Regions from separate parts of the Homo sapiens genome. Here all the other regions are linked to region 1. The links are contacts of gene promoters, found by promoter capture Hi-C in human tissues and cell types (Jung and others, 2019). All regions are on one chromosome and are shown on one strand. Each heading gives the region's core, a stretch centred on a gene start or on the middle of the fragment in contact. The rest is flanking DNA. Distances are from core to core; before and after follow the strand shown. Region 1 holds the start of KRT15 (keratin 15). Region 2 overlaps SMARCE1 (SWI/SNF related BAF chromatin remodeling complex subunit E1). Region 3 holds the start of KRT26 (keratin 26).

Region 1 (2,786 bases), core at 86-2,585:
TTGAACCCAGGCCTCACAGTCTTACCATGATAATTGATAAAGCCAGGATTCAAACCCGGGCCTGAGGGACTCCAGAGCCCTGTCCACTTCACCATGCTGCAACCTGGGCTAGGAATCCTCCTCCTGAGTTTCTGTAAGCCCTGGGGCCAGGTCCAGAGGGCTGAGCCACACCTCCAAGTGGCACTGCCCACAGGTATCAGGTGTCCCTGGAAAGGTGTCCCTGAGCTGGTGGCAGAGAAAAGGGCTCTCCTGAGTGTTCAACTCCCCGTCTGTGTGAAGCAATGCCTTGGTCTTCAAGATCTCCGGTGTCTTCCAGCCTGCCTGCCAGTCTCCCTTCTCTTCCCTTCCACAGCATTCAGGCACATAGAGCCTTCTGCAGCGGCCCGTCCCCAGCCAGCACTTGACAGGACAGATGGGGGCTAATCTGGCCCTGCTAAGCAGCGACATGCCTCTCCTGGAGAAGGCAGGGGCTTCCTGGAACTTGCCCCAGCCTTATCAGCGGAGGTTTGCCCCAACACATCCCAGAAACGAGCAAAGGTTCAGCGCCGTGCAGTTGGCAGGTGTCGGGATCATCAGTCATCCCCTTGTCAGTCCCAAGCCTGCTGGGCTTTTGTGAGGGTGCCAGGAACACAGGCTGGAGGATGGCAGGAGGGGAGTAGAGGTGGGAGGAGGGGAGTCCATCTGCAGCACCAGGTAAGGGGATGGATGCTGGCTCCTCTGGTCACCTCAGCTGGAACACTACTCAAGGTCCCTGGCTCCTGTCCTCCACCTGCCCCCAGGGGCCCTGCATTCCCATCCCCAGGGCCTCCACTCTCCCTGAGCCCTGCAGTCTCTCACTCACTCACTCACTCACTCATTCACTCACTCACTCACTCACAGGGTTTTGAGTTGGATAACACAGCATAATGATCGGCCAGTGGACTCCCAAACTAAGAACACGGAGCTGTCCTCTTGGGGAGAGGCTCAGGGCTCGGGGAAGTGAAGTCCAGCTGAGGGCACAGTTGGCCTGAGCTGCTCTCAGTACAGGCAGAGGCCTTGGTAGCTGTGCTGTGATGAGAGTTCGCTCCCTGCTGCTCTCTTCTGGCATGGAGAGATGAACCTGTAATCCAAGTGTTAAAACCGTGCCCTGGGGAAAAACACTATTAATTCTGAATCATCTCTTTTGTTGCATTAAAAAAAAATAGAAGAGAAAAACTTCACATGACCCACTCAAGGTGTGCAGGCAGCTGTGTTTGTCAGGAAGGCAGAAGGAGTTGGCTTTGCTTTAGGGGAGGAGACGAGGTCCCACAACACCCTCTGAAGGGTATATAAGGAGCCCCAGCGTGCAGCCTGGCCTGGTACCTCCTGCCAGCATCTCTTGGGTTTGCTGAGAACTCACGGGCTCCAGCTACCTGGCCATGACCACCACATTTCTGCAAACTTCTTCCTCCACCTTTGGGGGTGGCTCAACCCGAGGGGGTTCCCTCCTGGCTGGGGGAGGTGGCTTTGGTGGGGGGAGTCTCTCTGGGGGAGGTGGAAGCCGAAGTATCTCAGCTTCTTCTGCTAGGTTTGTCTCTTCAGGGTCAGGAGGAGGATATGGGGGTGGCATGAGGGTCTGTGGCTTTGGTGGAGGGGCTGGTAGTGTTTTCGGTGGAGGCTTTGGAGGGGGCGTTGGTGGGGGTTTTGGTGGTGGCTTTGGTGGTGGCGATGGTGGTCTCCTCTCTGGCAATGAGAAAATTACCATGCAGAACCTCAATGACCGCCTGGCCTCCTACCTGGACAAGGTACGTGCCCTGGAGGAGGCCAATGCTGACCTGGAGGTGAAGATCCATGACTGGTACCAGAAGCAGACCCCAACCAGCCCAGAATGCGACTACAGCCAATACTTCAAGACCATTGAAGAGCTCCGGGACAAGGTGAGTCCTCGGATGTCAAAGAGAGGGGAGCAGGTGGCTGGTACCCTGTACACAGCTCTAATGTCAGTGTTACTGCTGACTCAAGGAAATCCTTTCCTGCCCAGGCAATGACTGTCTGGTATGTAATCTCAGCAAATTTGGAATGCACCTGCTGTCCAGGTGCAGAGGCCAGTGCACATCTTCTCAACTTGGTGGTGCTGGGGGAGGGAGAGAGGGGTCTTGGGAATCTGGTTAGGACCAACAGGGGCACAGGTGGGGGCAATTATAAAGAGCCAGAGGCAGTAGCTCACACCTGTAATCCCAGTGCTTTGGGGGGCCAAGGTGATAGGATTGCTCGTGTCCAGGATTTAGAGGCTGCAGTGAGCTATGACTGTGCCACTGCACTCCGGCCTAGGTGACAGAGTGGAACCTGTATCTAATTAAATAAAAATAATTAAAAAAAAAGAGCAACTCGCCCTCCCTACCTCATGCACCCTGCAGGCTTCTGCATAAAGTATTCCTTTACCTCTTTTGCAAGAATGGGATTGGAGTGTGGCCTCATGAGTTCCAGATGCTAGAACCTCTTGTCTTTTCCTATAAAGAGGTCTTTTGTGCCAAAAGTACTGTTGGGTCTTAGGAGACCTGGGAACTCATTACACATTCTGCCACCCACTCACTCACCATTTTACTCCCTAAGACTGGGTTCCTCATTCGTAAAATGCCTTCTTAACTGCCCTCCAGGTTGCTACTGGCTGGAATGTTCTGTAGATCCATGGCTGTGTCCAAGGTGTGCAGGAGGCAGTGACCATGAGTTGTCCACAGTGGGGCTGGTGGAGTGTCTCTGAGAGAGCTATTGTCAGAGCTGGCTGCACCCCACTGCCCCACTCTCCTGGGCAACCAATTCCCACAGGC
Region 2 (2,786 bases), core at 173-2,672, 880 kb after region 1:
ACACTTCAGTGTGTTGCTTACCTCAAAAAACAAAACACACATTCACAGTCACACAAACACCCCCAGCCCCTGCAAAAAAGAAAGAGAAAAACAACCAAAAGACACTGCAGACAGGTTTCTCAATGAAAGAAAAATATTTAATTTCCTCAGTGGAAAAAAAGAACAATTACAACACATCATTGCTTGTTTAAATTCAGGTTGCTTTTGCATGCCATATGCAGATCATTTTTCATTTCTGTGTTTTCCTCGTTTGAGCTCATTTCTCATTCGTGTTTTTGTCTCATTTGTTTCCATCAGCAAATGCCCAGCACACCAGGGTTTGTGGGATACAATCCATACAGTCATCTCGCCTACAACAACTACAGGCTGGGAGGGAACCCGGGCACCAACAGCCGGGTCACGGTAGGAGAATCAACTATTACAGCATCCGGCAAACAACTGGAATTGACCAGAAATGCCTTCAGAATTAGGTCTTTTTGAATCATAAGCACAGCCATTTAAAAAAAATTTTTTAACCTAGCTTTTTGAGTATTTTCAACATTCGTTGTAGCATCTCACACTGAAAAAATAAATAGTGAGATCTGGAATGTATATAGAAGAAAAGAAAAATCCATTCTGTTTGGTGGTTGGTAGGGTTAAAGCCTTGAGCACTTGATGCTTATACTGTATGTAAACAAACAGAATTTCTTAAGGTAAAAATATCCTTTTTGACATAAAGAGTATTTTTCATTTTTATAAGGTGATTGGCATTAGTCTCAAGGATTGAGTTTCTAGTAGAGGCTGGTCTTTCAGACCTGGCTTTTTCAGGGCTGGAAAGCTTTTGGCTGGTACACCAGTTTGAATCGCTACCCATAGTTATTTGTCTTTTGGATTTAGTAGTTGACCTTCTAACTAAGACTCATTTCTCTACAGTGAAAAAGAGAAAAACGTTTTAATGTCACCTCAAAGAAATGCAGAGTGAAGGTTGAATGAAATTAATTTGAAGTATCAGACTAGATATGTACAACGAGAAGTGCATTTCTAATCCTTAGTATAAGAGATAGGATTTCTGAAACTTAGCATGTTTCATTTAAGTGATCAGCCTAAGATATCAAAATTGGATGATACACTTCAAATCTTTTAGTTTAGAATCATCTTAAATTTCATTCAAAAAAGTTTAAGCACCAAAAAATGCCAATAATTATAAAAATGACTTACTAAAGATAAAAAATCCAAAAGTCAAATACTACATTGGAATGTAGTGTTGGTGAGAATTTATACAACCCAGAATGGCTGTAAAGTTTTTAATACCTGGTTTTTGTTTGCTGTATTCATAAATAACAAGTGCCTTCTATTAATGTAACTTCAAAAAAGCCCTCTCACCCTGTAGTCAAGCTGGAACTGAAAGCTTGTAGCTATCAAATGAATGTCTATCTTGATAAGCATATTGCTTAGCTTGATAGGTTTTGTTTGTCTAAATTTTTCATTGTTTCTGCATAATATGTACTTCATAAGCATATCAAGTTTTATGTGCCATGCATATTTCATGGTATCTGAAAAAGAATTCTGACAAAGTGTGTGTATGTATGCATTTCACAATGCATACAATTTTTATGTGCATCAATACATGTTTTTCCCTGGCCTAAACATGTTGTTTCACAAGTGTAATGGATGGCAAGGTTTTCAAATGATAAAGAACATTTCAGTTTAAACAATGAACGGAATCAATCATGGATCTTAATGTTAATGCAGCAATTTTTTCACGGGCAGTAAACAAGAATGATTGCATTTAATAGCTCTATACAGTCACCTCTTGATTATCTATGTTAATGGAATAGAAATGATAACTATAATATTACAGTAATTTGTCTTTTGGTTTTGTGTAAGTATTTTGCTCTTAACTTGGATGTAGCTGTGGGGGATTCTCAGTTAAAAAAGTGAGATTGTTCGATGGAGACTAGGAAGAGAAAGTGTACTCCCTATCTGAAGTCACTCATCTGTTTCTTCCCATTCCTTCTTGGCGAATGTTAAGAACTGAACATTTGGCGTGGACACTAGCTACATAGTAGATTAATTATAGAGAGTTGTTGGACATGGAAAATTTGGTGTTTTGGTCCTTTGTGGACATTTACTTTGTATTATTGTCCTCTTAACACCAAATTGAAGTATAATCAAACTGCTATATGAAGAAGGGCCTAGAAAATGTGGAGGTTTTACACTACTTGCCCTGCTTTCTATATCTAGTTTAAGCTGTTAGGACTCAATGGCTCTGATTTTGACCATAATAAAAGCATTTTGATTTTACTATGACCCTAGTTATGCATTACTTTTGGGGGTGAGGGGAAGCTCCTGTATGGTATTGTTGTGCGCAGATTGCATTAGTGGTTTTCAAGGAACGAATCTGTGAAGCCCTGTCCAGTAGCTTGTGGTAGGCTGTAGAGAACATTGGGTTTCCCTGATGACTCCAGTATACTTGGGTAGTTCTCAGACAGTAAATACTTTGTATAGCATGTCGAGACCTTTTGGAGTGCTTATGATAGCTACAAGATGGAATTCACTCCTAGTCAGTTCTTCATTCAGATGATGATTAACATTCTCTTAAGTACAGGTGTGAAAACACATTGAGACAAAAATGTCTTTAAAAACAGCCTATTTCTGTACATTAATAGAAATTCTGCCCCAGAAGAAAGCTCTTAAATAAGTTCTTGCTAGAGAAACAGCTGAGAATTGCAAAAGAAACAACAACAAAAAACTGAGTAACCAAGATAAATTTCACAAAACCATGAACTTTATTCATAGGAGATTTC
Region 3 (2,786 bases), core at 105-2,604, 750 kb after region 1:
TAGTGACAATAATGTTGGATGTTTTCCAAAGGATTCACTATCCACAACATTGAAAAATATCATTCGGAAGAAAATTACTGTTTCAAAACTAAACCCATAATTAGTTAACCAATCAATTTGTATCATTATAGGTGATAGAGACCCGACCCTGTCTGACATGTCCACTTTATTATAATAATTTAAATAATTAACATTTAAAAATGTTTGTGCCTTTCAAACTGTCTTATCGTCATTCATGATTGGAACTGCTCAACATTCATTTGAGACTCTTTGATGCTATTATTTTCATTTGCCCAGTAGGGAAATGATCCAAGCCTGGATAACTTCCCAAGAGCATCAAGGCAAGAGAATAAAGAGTACTTCCCTGTGACAACTTATCTTCTCTCTAGGGTACTATAAGTACTGGTTTTCTAGGTAATGATGAAAACACCTCCCTCCTTATATATTTTACTCCTTGCTAATCAATATGATGCTCACTTCTCAAAATAATTCCTAATGTCTTAAATACATACATTTAAACTAAAAGACAGTAAACACTATTTAGGGGTAGGGAAGTGAACAATTTGGAGACTGTTAGTTGAATTGATGTCCTGCTCCTGGACCAAACCAAGAAATCTCAATCGAATTAATTCTCCACCATCATCACATATTCATGAATTATATTGAAATTAACAATAAGCAGGACTGCAGGATTTCTATTACTTCAGTTTTCAATTCAAGAAATGGTAGATTTCTTTTAAAATCTCCCACTACCAAAAGATCAATAGATGCTGAGATTTTCTGGTTTTGATAAGAAGGAAAACACACACCCAGACACCCAGGGCAGTGGCTCACACCTGTAATGCTGGCCACAGGAGGCTGAGCTGGGTGCTGAGGCTGAGGATCACTGGAGGCCAGGAGTTCGAGACCAGCCTGGGAAACATAGCGAGACCACATATCTTTAAAAAAAGGAAAAAAGAAAAAGAAACGAAAGGAAGAAAGGAAGCACTCAATGAAGTGGGAATACTAGAAATACTCTATGAGCGTTAACAGGACAAAAGTAGGAGACATTTCTCATTGGAATTATTAATTCTTTGTTATATGTGGCAGGGGGAGAATCTAGATTCTATTAATATTCCAGTGGCCAAAAAGATGCACATTTAGTCATATTTAATTTTGGCCTTTGAGGCTATGATTTAGTTTTACTTCACCTGGCACCATTTTTATATATAAAAAATATCCTTGGGGCACCTTTCCACCTACAGACTGGACGCTGTTAAAAATTACCCAATTGTGAAAAACAACAATTAGGATGCAAGTAAATTTTATTACAGACTGGCATAGTCAAGACTGAAATGACCCAGTGAATACTATAAAAGGCCAAGGGAGCTAACAAGTGTGGAAGGTGAACCCTGGCTTTGCTCCTCTTTCTGGGAAGGGGTTGCCCGGCTGTGCTGCCACCATGTCTTTTCGACTTTCTGGTGGATCCAGGAGGATCTGCTCGCGAACTGGGTCTGGTAGGCTGTCCGGTGGAGGAACAGGCTTCGTGGCTGGGAATGTGTGTGTTGGATCGGGAGCAAGAAGCAGCTTTTCTTGTACTCTTGAGGGCATCTCTTCTGGAGGAAGCTTCTGCAATAGCGGTGGAGGGTTGGGAAGTGGTGCCTGTGCTGGTTTTCTTGGCAATGAGCACAGCCTCCTCTCTGGGAATGAAAAGGTGACCATGCAGAATCTCAACGACCGCCTGGCATCCTACCTGGACCATGTGCATGCTCTAGAGGAGGCCAACGCAGACCTGGAGCAGAAGATCAAGGGCTGGTACGAGAAATGTGAGCCTGGCTCTTCCCGGGAACACGATCATGACTATAGCAGATACTTCTCAGTCATAGAAGATCTTAAAAGGCAGGTAAGAAATAGGGATTTGCATACTTTTACTACAGACTTTGTGTGTTGATAATTTAAAGAAGAGAAAATATAAAATGTGCCTAACAAATTTATGTGATGTAAGATTTGTTCACTCTGTATTTCCAGTGCTAAGCACAGTACCTGGCAATAAAATCTTGTAGAATTAAATAATGAAAAAGAAATCATTTCAAAACAGATATAGTCACTTCGTTTTTCATATATTTAGCTCATACCATTTGATCAAAAGTAGTAAAAGTATCTATGTGGCTCTTAAGCTCTGGATGCTTATTATCTGAAGAAAATCCAGATTTCTTTAACATAGAAAAAAGATACTAAAACAGATGTTTGACAGATTAAGAAGATATAAAATCACACTGAAGTCTGGAGCCTCCTTTGACTTTTGGTAATTAACATTTTTCACAATCTTCCCTATTTAGATTATTTCTGCGACCATCTGCAATGCCAGCATTGTTCTACAAAATGACAATGCCAGACTGACCGCTGATGACTTCAGGCTGAAGTAGGTGAAAACAAACTGATTAATTATATTAATAAAAGTTAAAATATTACAATTGGATTAAGGAATATATATTTTGCTTTGAAAACCAAAATGTTTTTCTAAAGCCAGACTAGATCAATAAAGAAATTGAATTAAATAAGCCGTTATAAAAAGAGCTATCATGGTTGGATAGAGTAGCTCATGCCTGTAATCCCAGCACCTTGGGAGGCTGAGGCAGGCAGATCACTTGAGGTCAGGAGTTTGAGACCAGCCTGGCCAATGTGGCAAGACCCCGTCTCTACTAAAAGTACACACACAAAAAAATAGTCAGGCATGGTGGCTCACTCCTGTAATCCCAGCTACTTGGGAGGCTGAGACATGAGAATCACTTGAACCCGGAAGGTGG

What was found. The method cuts DNA at HindIII sites, captures the fragments that hold promoters and counts their contacts. A contact is called where the count stands out against the background at its distance.
Region 2: a fragment that was not itself captured here is called in contact with the fragment with the promoter of KRT15 in region 1 in 1 of the 25 tissues and cell types used here (neural progenitor cells).
Region 3: a contact is called between the fragment with the promoter of KRT26 here and the fragment with the promoter of KRT15 in region 1, in 1 of the 25 tissues and cell types used here (lymphoblastoid cells).

The regions. Positions count from the first base shown.
Region 1 is chr17:41,517,439-41,520,224 of GRCh38, reverse strand. KRT15 (keratin 15) reads left to right here and starts at 1,335. Exons shown (of 8, transcript NM_002275.4): 1 at 1,335-1,895. The coding sequence starts at 1,398. RefSeq lists enhancers at 1-995, 2,700-2,786. The HindIII fragment of the contact is 25,725 bases long and covers 1-2,786 here.
Region 2 is chr17:40,640,071-40,642,856 of GRCh38, reverse strand. It overlaps SMARCE1 (SWI/SNF related BAF chromatin remodeling complex subunit E1), which reads left to right. Exons shown (of 11, transcript NM_003079.5): 4 at 298-402. Among named protein-coding and RNA genes, the nearest start is that of SMARCE1, 6.4 kb to the left of the region's middle. The HindIII fragment of the contact is 4,314 bases long and covers 1-2,786 here.
Region 3 is chr17:40,770,769-40,773,554 of GRCh38, reverse strand. It overlaps KRT26 (keratin 26), which reads left to right and starts at 1,354. Exons shown (of 8, transcript NM_181539.5): 1 at 1,354-1,882; 2 at 2,319-2,401. The coding sequence starts at 1,442. The HindIII fragment of the contact is 6,204 bases long and covers 1-2,319 here.